Regions from separate parts of the Homo sapiens genome. Here region 1 is linked to region 2. The links are contacts of gene promoters, found by promoter capture Hi-C in human tissues and cell types (Jung and others, 2019). All regions are on one chromosome and are shown on one strand. Each heading gives the region's core, a stretch centred on a gene start or on the middle of the fragment in contact. The rest is flanking DNA. Distances are from core to core; before and after follow the strand shown. Region 1 overlaps ABCA8 (ATP binding cassette subfamily A member 8). Region 2 holds the start of ABCA8 (ATP binding cassette subfamily A member 8).

Region 1 (6,256 bases), core at 1,200-3,699, 48 kb before region 2:
GTTAGAATTAAAATACACAAGTTTAAAAATAACTATGATAAATATGTTACAAGATCTACTGGAAAATATGGACAATATTGAGAGCAGATGAGAAATAGTAAAGAACTGAAACTCTAAAAAAGAACAAATGAAAATGTTAGAATGAAAAAGTGCAGTATCAGAAATAGAGAGTTTATTATGTTCGGCTTCAAAACAGTCTGAACACAAGAGAATAAGTTATTTGTGACCTTGAAAATAGGTGGATAGATAGTGTCCAATTTCTAACATAAAGAAAAAAAAAAGAAAAACCTGACACCAGAGAATCTGATATCTGTGGAACAGTACAATATGTCTAATTAAGACTCTCTTCTTTATTGCTGGCCTACAGGAATTTAATAGTTTCATTTTAAAGTATTGTTTGGGGTTCTTAAGTGTTTTAGATCTGTGGGTTCATGTTTTATATTAATTTATGATTTAGAATAAATGTTTTATCTGAAATTGCCCTTAGAAGCCTAGAGCTAATATGAGTGCAGTGAGCCTTGGATGTAGAAAAATGGATTATTTTTAACTACAAAGCAATGTTGACAGGGATGCGTTTCATTTTTACACAAGCTTGTCTAAGAAGAGCCTTAATCATGAACCCCACATTTTGTAATCACATCTTTGGAACAGTGTGTTCTTGAAATATGTGCTTTTACATAATAATTTTCATGCATTTTATTTACCCGATTCATTAATTGTAGATTTTCCTTCTAGCTTCAGGAATACTTCATTCAAAGTTGTCATGGAAACACCATAATTCTCAATTCCTAGGTCAGGATAGCTATCAAGATCCTTGTAAAGTTCTAAAGAATACATATACAGCAGTGAATTAAAACAAGAATCACAAGTGAACTGAAGACAATTTTTCAAACTAATAAGCACAAATCTATGAAACTATACTTGTGATATGTCAAAAACATTTGAAAATTAACATTTCATAATAGATCATCTTATTCTGCAAATTCTATATATTATTTTCTATTTTACATCATGTGTTACAACCCAAATATTACTTTGTCAAACATTAATTTATATTCATTTGCATTTCTATTAAAGTTTAATCTTAGTTTTTTCTGACTTCCTTTTAAAATTTAATTAATTGTGAGACTCTGGGTTTTTCAACTCTAAGCCTAATTAATTGAAAAGTCTTTTCTAGAGAACAGATATAAATGGGAGCCATTTATGTTCTAACTGACAAAAGGAAAGGAATTAATTTTTTGAGAATTAATTGGATGGTGTAGAATCTTCTGTAGTTTAGAAAATATTTGTTAAAGAGAAGACATAGAATATAAACCATTAAAAAATTTTCTGTTTCTAACAATGGAAGAAAAAATTCACAAGACCTAACAGGCAGAGAATGTGGAACTGAATCAGGGAATTTTCCTGGAATTGTGACAGTGATTATTCGCTCTAGCAATTTTATATCTATTCATTCTTTAGTTCGTTCACCAAAATATACTTACGCATCTGTCATTGTTCATGAAGCAGTGAACAGTGCCCCTGCCTGCATGGATTTGAATTACAGTGGTTAAATCAAGCTTAAATAAAAACCTAATTCTAATACTAGGGTGATTACAGAAGTCCTGAGGCTTCCATCTGGAGCTCCTGCTTGGGCAAAAGGATAGGTTAAAAGCTTTTTGTCTTGACTAGAATACCTCATACAGAAAGGTAGAAAAGAAGTAAGATTTAAGCTAATAATGAGTATTATGCATCATTCTTCATTCCACCTAAAACGTCTACAAATTTTCTTTAAATTATAATTACTGTTAAAAAGTACTAATCAGAATTTGCGTAACACTTTCCTGATGATTCTAAGGAATGCTTGTGTTGTCACCATAAAATGTGTATTTGAATGAATGTATATGTCTTTGTTAACCACATATACAGCAAGGTTAATTGTTTCAACCACTAATGTGGGCCCTTATAGTGCCCCATTGTTAAGGAACAAGTTCCCTGAACAACAAACATAGTTAGTAAACTTTTATGCGTTAGCCTGAAAAACCCAAAGTTATTGCAAAAGTCTCACCGAGACAGATAGCCACATCACAGGGCTGTTTAATGTAGTGCATAAGCCAGAGGTTTTCAACCATTTGGGTTTGTGTACATTTATGAATACTAGAATATTATGTTACACACTACTAGGGAAGAAGGACTAAAAGAAGCCCTCTAAAATGCCCAGGCATTACAATACAACTATTAGAATGTAATTCTATTTCCCACTATACAGAAAATAATTCAGTTATTGTACTATTCTTTTGATTATGTTTCAGTACCTGAGCATACTGTAAGACATTGATAAATGTTAGTTGTAATGATAATAATTATGATGATGATGACTATTATTCACATATTTTATTTCACAGTGTTCATGCACATTACCTGGAAATTTATTTGTTCTTTCTAAGGGTAATGTATAAATAAGTTTTCCTTCGCTTTTGGCTGATAATTTGGCATCAGGGATGTGCTGTTTAACAAGTGATGTTATGTTTTCCTCAACACATATTTCATTTAACTGCAAGCTGGCATTCAGAAAAAAAAAAAAAGACATATGTTACTCGACATAGTCTCCAATAGCAAGAAAATAATTAACTAGTCTCTATAGGACAAAGAAAATCAATTAAAATCTAATGCCAGAAATAGGTCAGACAAACACAAAATAAGAGGACAAAAACCCAAGAAATAAGAGGACAAAAACCCAGCCAAATCATATAAATGTGATGGACAAAAGAAAAGAATGAGCTAATGAGAGTTACTGGTGAGGTTACTCAGGAGTAGTGCCCAGAGAAGTTTCATATTGATTGAAGCTCCTGAAGAGAGGGTGGTCACAGAGTGGAAAATACCAGGGTTGCAGTACAGCAAAGGTCAGGACTATGCAAAATGGATAACGTTGCAGTTGAAGGTTCAGTTTTAAGCTGACTAAATAGAATTGTTGTATCGCTTCAAAGGAACAAGAGACTTGTGAGAAGTATAGATGCCAAACAGTTTCAGTTACTCAATGTAGTCATCCAATGCAAATTTACTAAGTTCTTAGTATGTGACAAACATCATACTTAGTGTTGAGGATACAATGGTGACTAAAGCAGCATTATTCTGCTCTTATGGAGTTCATTGTCTAGTGCGGGCGTCAGGAAGAAAACATGTAGACAACCAGATGAGTAAAATAATTATCAATAGTAGTAAGTGCTATGAAGGAAACTGGATTATAGATAGAAACTAATAATGGATGAATGTGGTTTGCTTTTCTTGTAATGCTAAGCCCAGAACTTTGAATAAGAACAAAGTATCATTGAGAAAATCAGTCTATCCATTGAAAAATACCACAGCTATTTCTCCATTATAGAGAAACAGACAAACACAATATTCTATTAATTGAGGTTATAAATTATACAGTGGGCAAAATATCAGTAGTGACTTGGCTTTGAAATATTGTTTTAGCATCTGGAACGTGTTATTTAACTTATCTAAACAGTTACTTTATTAGAAAACTGGAATAATGATTCCCAGCCTCTAGGGTTATTCGAACAATGGAATAATAGTGAAGTTTGCACTTGACAAGCCCTTAAAAATGGTAGCAATTTTATTTGACCAAATGCATAAGTCAAAAATTATTCCACTGACACATAAGTCATGTATGAACTTAAAAGAATATATGCTATTTTTTTAGAAGTAGTGAAATCCACTGGAAGAGTGAAGCAAAAAATGTCGTAGCTGTTTTCCATGATGCTGACTCCTGAAATGAAAACAATTTAAGAATTATTCCTTGGCCACTTGTAGGAACTTGTGCTGAGTGCTGGGGCGGAATGAATGAGTCATGCAGAAAGTCATTCCTTGAGGAACTTGAAGCTTGAAAGGGGAGGTTGTAAAACTTTTTCTGTAAAATGTGTACTAGATAGTAAATTTTCTAGGCTTTGTAGGCTGTTAGAACTCTGTTGAAACTCTTCCACTCTGCTGTTGTAACATGGAGACAGCCAGAGCAGTGTGTAAAAGAAAGGGCATGACTGGGCTCCAACCAAACTGTATTTACAGAAAGAGGAAGTAGGCTGGATGTGGCTCATGAGCTATAATTTGTTGGCCCTTAGATTAGAAGAAAATAAGGCAATTGCACAAATAGGAGTCCATGAATGGACTCGCAAATTGGGCAGGGATCCTGACTAGCACTTTTTATTTTGAAAACATGTTATGTTTCCATGCAGTGTGCCAGGCAGTCTCTTATTTATTTTTCTATAACCTTTACTTGTAAGTAGGAATTGCTACTCTCACTTTGTAGGTGGAAACACTGACTTTCAGATAGTTTAATTAATTTCCAAGAAGAGATGCAAACAAAGTGCTATAAGAAATAAAAAAAAATTGGGACATTACACAGAACTGGAAAAATATCTACATGAGATATTTTTCAAATAACTTTCTAGGACTTAAACAAGTGCAGATGAGTTAAGGAAACTGTCATCCTATTTTCTTTGTATTGTTGTCATGATAGGTTTGTTTTCTTTCTTAAGTATAGATGGTATAAATTTACAAAAACGACCAATCATGTAACAAAAACAGTAGTTTAAAATATGGATTTGACTACTAGATTTAGAATTTAAAAATATTCAGGTTCAATTTCTGATTCCAGCACTTCTTAATCTAGGGAGTCTGTAATTTCATCTGTAAAATAAAAGTAACAACACTTCTATTTTAAACAATAGAAGATTTAGGAGGGGAGGTAGAGCAAGGTGGCCAGATAGAACCCTCCAGAAATCTTCCCATCCCCCAGGAACACCAAATTGAACAACTGTCCACACAAGGAAGCACCTTCATAAGAACAAAAAAATCAGGTGAGCAATGATAGTGGTTTTAACATCATATAAGGAAAGAAGCACTGGAGAGGATAGGAAAGACAGTCTTGAATTGCTGACACAACTTCCCATCCTTGGCAGCAGCTGTGTGGCACAGAGAGAGAATGTTGTATGCTTGGGGGAGGGAGAGGACAGTCATTGTGGGACTTTGCATTGGAACTCAGTGTTGCCTGTCACAGTGACAAGCAACGTAGGGCAGAATTCGGCCACTGCCCACAGAGGGAGCATTTAGACCAGCCTTAGCCAGAGGGGAAGCATTCATCCCACTACCATGGACTAAAGTGCTCTGGGGATCTAAATAAACGTAGGACCACAGGGACTGAAATTCCTGGGCAAGTCCTGATGCTGTTCTGGGCTCAAAGCCAATGGACTTGGGGTGCAAAAGACCTCGAGAGACACCAGCTGGAGCAGCCAAGGGAGTGCCTGTTTCACCCCCTCCCCCAACACCAGACAGTGCAGCTCGCTGTTCCAGGAGAGACTCCCTCCTTCTGTTGAGGAGAGGAGAGAGGAGTAAATAGGATTTTGTTTTCCAACTTGCATACAAGCTCAGCCACAGCAGAATAGGACACCAGGCAGAGTTCTGAGGACCCCATTCCAGGCCCTTGCTCCCAGATGACATTTTTAGACATACCCTAGGCCAGAAGGGCACCTGCTGCCTTGAAGAAAAAGACCCAGTTCTGGCAGAATTCATCACCTCCTGACTAAAGAACTTTTGGGCCTTGAATAAACACCAGGAGTAGCCAGGCAGTACTTGCCACAGGCCTTGGGTGAGGCCCAGTGCTCTGCTGGCTTCAGGTTTGACCTAGCACATTCCCAGCTGTGATGGCTGTGGGGAGAGACTTTCTGCCTGAGGAAAAGAGAGGGAAGAGTAAAGGGGACTTTGTCTTGCAGCTTAGGTACCAGCTTAGCTACAGTGGAGTAGAGAGCACCAAGCGGACTCCTGGGGTCCTGGATTCTAGGCCTTGGCTCCTGGATCTGGACTTGCCCCAGGCCAGAGGGGAGCCCATTGCCCTGAAGGGAGCTGCTACCCAGGCCTGGCAGCATGTACTACAAGCTGCCTGAAGTCCCTTGGGCCTTGAGTGAACATCAGTGGTAGCCAGGCAGTACTCGCTGCAGGCCTGGGGCAGTGGTGACTAGGGGGAGAGACTCCTTCTCCTTGAGGAGAGGGAAGAGTGGGAAGACTTTGTCTTCTGGTTTGGGTGTCAGCTCAGCTGCAGCAGAATACAGTGCCATGTAGATTCCTAAGATTTCTGACTCCAGGTCCTTCCTCCCAGAAGGCATTTCTGGACCCACCCTGGGCCAGTGGGAAGCTTGCCACCATAAAGGGAAGGACACAGGCCTGGCTGTATTTGCCACCTGCTGCCTGAAGAGCCCTTGGGCTTAGAGTGAACATTGGC
Region 2 (7,003 bases), core at 4,368-6,867:
GCATTGATGGAACATATCTCAAAATAACAAGAGCTCTTTACTGCAGAGCCATAGCCAATATCATACTGAATGGGTAAAAGCTGGAAGCATTCCCTTTGAAAACTGGCACAAGGCAAGGATGCCCTCTCTCACCACTCCTATTCAACATAGTATTGGAAGTTCTGGCCAGTGCAATCAGGCAAGAGAAAGAAATAAAGGTATTCAAATAGGAAGAGAGGAAGTCAAATTGTCACTGTTTGCTGATGACACGATTCTATATTTAGAAAACCCCATAGTCTCAGCCCCAAAACTCCTTAAGCTGGTAGGCAACTTCAGCAAAGTCTCAGGATACAAAATCAATGTGCAAAAATCACAAGCATTCCTATACACCAACAATAGACAAGCAAAAAGCCGTCCACTGCTCAAGGAAATAAGAAAGGACACAAACAAATGGAAAAACATTTCGTGCTCATAGATAGGAAGAATCAATATCATGAAAATGGCCATACTGCCCGAAGTAATTTATAAATTCAATGCTATTCCCATCAAGCTACCATTGACTTTCTTTGCAGAATAGAAAAAAACTACTTTAAATTTTATGTGGAACCAAAAAAGAGCCCGCGTAGCCAAAACAATCCTAAGCAAAAAGAACAAAGCTGGAGGCATCCTGCTACCTGGCTTCAAACTATATTTAGATTTATTAGCATGAATTTAAAATATCTATAACTAAAAATACTTTTGAAAACCTATTATAAATGGATGTATGTTTTCTTCTATTTTTAAGCTTCTTTTTATTTTTATTCATTAGTCTTGCTAGAATTTTGAATGTATTAATGGCCTTTTAAACAAAACAGCAGTTTACTGTTTCATCATTTTCATTGCTTACTATGTTTTCTAATTTATTAATTTATCCTCTTACTTTTCACGGTTTTATTTCTACTCTTTTTGGGGGTTGGTTTTGCTACTTTTTCCTTTGGCTTCTTGGCTGAAATAACGAACTAATGTTAGCAGAGTGGCTGAGAAAATGGATTCTGGAGTTGAGTGATTGATTGCATCAGTGACCCAATTATCCATCTGTCTGTGTCCACCCTTTGTCTGGTAATTTTGGAGTTTTTGTCATCAAGGCAGGCTAGTACTTGGGCCAAGAGAAGAAGGGAGGTGTGATGTCGCACCAGTTCTGAACCTCAGCCTCCCGAGACCTTGAGTGTATCTGCTTGTTTTTTTGTTTCTTCCATTGCTGTGAGAGCAGACCTGGCCTAGCCTACTGCGGAATGAAACCAAGCTGAGTCCTCTCAGTCATCCAGTTGAGAGTGCTAGCCAGTCCCCTCCCAGAGATACCATCAAGCCTATCCAAGATCAGCAGTTTCTTAGGAACCACTGCAGACACCACACTACAAATGCTTATTGCTGTGTGTTGTTATTTGGGTTTATTTCCTTTTTGCTATGTAACATAAATGTGGCAATAGACCATACATATGTTACTTAGGATTACCTCTTTAGCATTCACTATATTGAAGTTTCTTTGTTTTTAGTGACTTTTTATTTTTGATTTCTAACAATTATATTGTGACCAAAGAAATGACTTCTCAGTAAGATACTGCTTCTTTAAAATTCCTTAAGACTTCCTCGCTGGTGCAGCATATTTTAATATTTGAAAGTGTTCCACGTGCACCTAACATACCTGTAACTCACCATTTAGGTGAAGTGTTTTGTACGTATCTATTCAATCTTTTTCATTGTGTTCTTCAAATCTTCAGCATCCTTTCTAATGTTATATTTCCTAGATCAATCATTTCATAATAGAGTTCAATTAAAAATTTCCACTCTAATAATAGGTTTGGCAATTTCTTATTATATCTCTGTTAGTTTTCAGCAAGTGCATTTAAAGCATAGGTAGCTAGGTGCATAAAACATTGCTTTTTTATGTTTCAGTAATAGGTTGCTTCTATTTCTGATAATATGGAGACACTAGGTTTCTGTAGGTTAATATTTGCCTAATGTATCTGTTTCTATCTCTTTGTTGTTAACCTTTTGCTGCATTTTTAAATATTTGGTTACTATATAAAAAACTATCAATGCATTATGTTTAGAAATCTAAACTGATAGATAACTATATTTTAAGAGATGCATTAAACCATGTATGAATTTTTGTTTTGGATGATCTCTCATTCTATCTTATTCTCACGTTAAACCTACTTTTCTTTTGCTTCTAGTTTTGTCTACATCTTTACCTTCTATTGAATTGAAAATGTTTTCCTCTCCTTCTTCACTTCTTCTCCTGTCCCAAAGATGTAAAAGGTGGTTATATGTCTTTTATGGTTACTCTTAAATACTTTTCTAAGAAACTATAACTTATTTTATGAAAACTCAAAAGTATTTATTATCTCTGTTCTCTTTTTACAAACAAATGCCTTCTAGTTATTTTAACACTCTGCTGAATTCCAATCTAATTATCCTGGTTATTTATTTATTTATTTATTTTTGAGATGGAGTCTCGCTCTGTCGCCCAGGCTGGAGTGCAGTGGTGCGATCTCGGCTCACTGCAAGCTCCGCCTCCTGGGTTCATGCCATTCTCCTGCCTCAGCCTCCCGAGTAGCTGGGATTACAAGCGCCCGCCACCACGCCCAGCTAATTTTTTGTGTTTTTAGTAGAGATGGGGTTTCACCTTGTTAGCTCGGATGGTCTCGATCTCCTGACCTTGTGATCCGCCTGTTGTTGTGTAGAAATGTGATTCAATTTTCAATTTAAAGAACATACAAAGTAGATTCATTTTTTACCATCAAATGTCTATTAACTTTGCCAATGAATTATGCATTTCTGTAGCGAGGCTTTGATATACTTGGGCTTGTGCAGGAGGTGGAGTGTAGAAATTCCTCCTGTACAGGGCTTGCATTGGCGGCAGCTGCTTTAAGAACCCAGAAACTTTTGTCCTCTCTGTAGGCTAGCTCACTGTGAAAATATCCCATGGATTTTACCTAAAATTGCTTACAGAGAGTGGCATTATACTTCTATAGATAACTGCATCAGTAACCAGAGAGGAGAAGTACAGCAGTAGACTACCCTCTACCCCCTGGTAGGAGTAGTAGCACATCACAGTTTCAGCATGTTCAATCTTGAGCAAAGAACATGATGTGATTGTTTCTGGGTATGTCTGTATATGGGGGGTGATTTTGTAGGGGAATTTATACATACAGTTTATTGCAGCAGGCACATAAAATACTTCCCAGAAGAAGATAATTCAGTGCATAATAAGAGCACCACATCTTTCCAGAACTTCAATCAACCACTGCTACACAAATAGGATTTGCTAAGCCACTCCTGAAAACTGTAGGACTAGAGTGCTTTCAAATGGTCTTTGCCGTGGGAGAAAACAGGCTACCTAAGCTGAATTATAGAAAGTAAAGAGATTCTGGAAGGTACCATCATCAGTTTTCTGGGAAGCATGTGAAGGACATGACTTGGAAGAATGGGTCCAGACTTTTGAGCACAAAGCCAGCAGCTCCACCCTGAAGACCATCATTTGGCTCATAAGTCCTGACTTCTGAAGCAAGTGATCTCCCTCCGTATGCATGCCATGTTGGCCATGCAGTTTCTATGAACTCCTCCATAGTGATGAGAAGTGAATGAGCCCCAACTGAAGCCATCATCTCATTTATGGGACAGGATCACACACAGGGTGGTGCTACTTTCTAGAGCCAAATCTCAAGTAAGGTGTCCAGGGGTCAGTTGCAACAGAAGGCACATTAGCCACAGCAGTCTCAGAGAACACTGCTAGAAGAAGAACCTACACATGGCCATGCAATGAGGCTGAGGGGCAGGCCTAAGTGGAAGCAGACCAAGTAAAGAGGTCAGAGAGCCCATGGAAGGAGAAGAGGGAAAGACAGTTCCAAGAGTAAAGCAGCCTAGGTTAAGGTGCAGAAAATTCAGCATGGATACTTTTAAGAGAGCTGTGCAAGGCTCTCCTTACCTAAAATCACACTCCGTATACAGACATACCCACAAACAATCACATCATGTTCTTTGCTCAAGATTGAACTTGCTGAAACTGTGATGTGCTACTACTCCTACCGGGGGTAGAGGGTAGTCTGCTGCTGTACTTCTCCTCTCTGGTTACTGATGCAATTATCTATAGAAGTATAATGCCGCTCTCTGTAAGCAATTTTAGGTAAAATCCATGGGATATTTTCACAGTGAGCTAGCCTACAGAGAGGGCAAAAGTTTCTGGGTTCTTAAAGCAGCTGCCGCCAATGCAAGCTCTGTACAGGAGGAATTTCTTTTTTTTTTTTCGTTTTATTATTATACTTTAAGTTTTAGGGTACATGTACACATTGTGCAGGTTAGTTACATATGTATACATGTGCCACGCTGGTGCGCTGCACCCACTAACTCGTCATCTAGCATTAGGTATATCTCCCAATGCTATCCCTCCCCCCTCCCCCCACCCCACAACAGTCCCCAGAGTGTGATGTTTCCCTACACTCCACCTCATGCACAAGCCCAAATATATCACAGCTTCTCTACAGAAATGCATAATTCACTGGCGAAGTTAATAGACATTGGCCAAGAGGATGATCTCCTCACTATGGAATCAGCTACAGTCTTAGGTAGCATGCAAACTCCAGTCTGACTCCAATCCCTTATATCTTCCATCGTAAAGTATTATTGCCAACTTTGTTTCTTTCCAATTTTTGTATGTTCTGCAGTTTATGTAAAGGCTAGCAAAAACATGAATACTTTATTATACATATGGCAAATAGTCTCAAATTGTAATGACTCATTTTTATCCTCTTATACTGTTGTAAAATTCAGAACAACATGTATTCACTATAGGAGTATGAAAATTCTTTTTACCAATGTACATTTTAAATAACATTGTGGTAAAGAGAAGCTACATATTTCACATTCTGATTCAACTCACTGTATCCAACGAGTAAAAGATCCTAGAAAGAATCTTACATTTCTAAAATTCTTATAGACTAAGAGTGAGCGATAGGAACAATAAAAATATTTCTGTAAGTGCTCTTGGTAAACAGTCTTAAAGTCAGAAGAACACTTATCCAAAATGCCCTACATTATTGTGCAATCAAAGTAGATAACTTTAACTTCAAAAACAACTCAGTCTTCCAACCCAATTCTTAAAACTCTAAGCTCTTCACAAAAAATTTTTAGCCAATTTAAACTTATTTCTACACTCAGTTATGTTTAAAACAACATAATGTTTGCATAATTTTTTAAAAAACATTCTAACTCAATGTTTTTATTTATCTAATATTAATTACCAGATATAAAATCTTTAAAGTAGCCCAATATTTTTCAAAATAATTTCTGCATAGATGATTGTCATTCAGTTTATAAAGGTTTATTTATAATTTTGTGATAGGAATAAGAAAAGACAAAACCTCTGAAACAAACTCACACACAAAAGCAAAATACAAAACAAAACAGAAAAAATACAGTGAACTTACTTCTGGGAAAATGGAAGCAAGGAATCTAGAGGTATGGTTTATCCACTGAGCTCCTTGTTTAGAAGAAAGTTATTCATATTTTCTCCTGGTCTCTACCATGTATCTAGAATTTGCTTTAACTATTTGACTTCTGTGAAAAGTTTCTGTGAAGACTGCTTTCAGAGTGGAGGTTATGATCTCAATTCTGTTGGCCCTGCCAAACATCACATTCACGTCATCATGCTTGGACTGTTTGTCTTCTCATTGATATTCGGCCAGTTCCTGCAGAGCAGTGGCATTTATACTGGGTTGCCTGGCTATATCATATTATAGGGAGCAATTTCTCTTTTACGTCCAAGATTATTGTGGCTAATACCAAAATTTAAAGTGCTGTCTTTAAGCCATGAGAAAGTAAACAGCTTAATCAGAGAAAAGCTCTTCTCTCTACCCAGAGCTCTAGTCTGCTTAATTGACAGCTTTACCTAGATAATCAAAATTTTCATTCCTCTGCTTCCCAGCTTCATTTTCACTCAGTTCAGACTATTTTCCAATTTATTTGACCCACGGATTAATCAGAAATGTGCTTAATTTCCAAGTGTCTGAAGATTTTCTTATCTTTTGGTTATTGATTTAATTTTAAATCAGAAGTTCAATTATACTCAGAAAAAATATTTTGTATGTCAAATTTGTTAAGGCTTATTTGATGACCCAGGATATGATCTATCTTGGCAGATATTCCATAGGCACTTGAAAAGTTGTATAGTTTTTTGGTGTTGAGTGGAATATTATATAATATCTATTACATTTAGTTGGTTGATGATATTGTTCAGTTTTTTCTATATTTTTCCTAATTTTCTGTCTCCTAGTTCTGTTGATTACTAAGAGAGGAATGTTGAAGATTTTAACAAAACTTAGGGACTTTCAAATTTCTCCCTTTAAAACTATCATGTTTTGCCTGATGTATTTTGCAACATTTGGAATTGTTATGTCTTCTTGGTGAATTGACCCTTTTATCATTATGTAATGTTAATCTTTATCTCTAGTAACTTTTGTGTTCTAAAGTCTACTTTGTTTCATATTAATAATATAGCCATTCTTACTTTCCTGTGATTATTGTTTTCGTGGTATTTTGTTTTCATCCGTTTATTTTTATCTACACACACACACACACACACACACACTATATGCTTTCAGAGTGGCAGTTATGATCTCAATTCTGTTGGCCCTGCCAAACATCACATTCATATTATATGTGTATGCGTGTGTGTGTATGTGTGTGTGTGCGTCTGTGTTTGTTATTATTTTTTTAAGATGATGGTCTTGCTATGTTGCCAAGGCTGGACTTGAACTCCTGGGTTCAAGTGATCTTCCCATCTCAGACTCCTGAGTAGCTGAAACTACAGATACATGCCACTATACCCAGCTCTAAATTGTATTTCAAGTGAGTTTCTTGTAGATGGCATATAATAGAGTCATGAGTTTGGTTTTTAAAATCCAATTTGACAATGCACATCTTTTAATGGGTGTGTTTAAATTATTTTCATTTTATGTAGCTATTGATTTTTAAAATCAGATCTGCC

Evidence for each region. Contacts are between HindIII fragments. The study calls those that stand out against the background at their distance.
Region 1: a fragment that was not itself captured here is called in contact with the fragment with the promoter of ABCA8 in region 2 in 2 of the 25 tissues and cell types used here (dorsolateral prefrontal cortex and hippocampus).

Annotation. Positions count from the first base shown.
Region 1 is chr17:68,905,340-68,911,595 of GRCh38, forward strand. It overlaps ABCA8 (ATP binding cassette subfamily A member 8), which reads right to left. Exons shown (of 40, transcript NM_001288985.2): 18 at 2,401-2,540; 19 at 705-824. Among named protein-coding and RNA genes, the nearest start is that of ABCA8, 47 kb to the right of the region's middle. The HindIII fragment of the contact is 5,133 bases long and covers 1-5,016 here.
Region 2 is chr17:68,949,775-68,956,777 of GRCh38, forward strand. ABCA8 (ATP binding cassette subfamily A member 8) reads right to left here and starts at 5,618. Exons shown (of 40, transcript NM_001288985.2): 1 at 5,445-5,618. The HindIII fragment of the contact is 19,891 bases long and covers 288-7,003 here.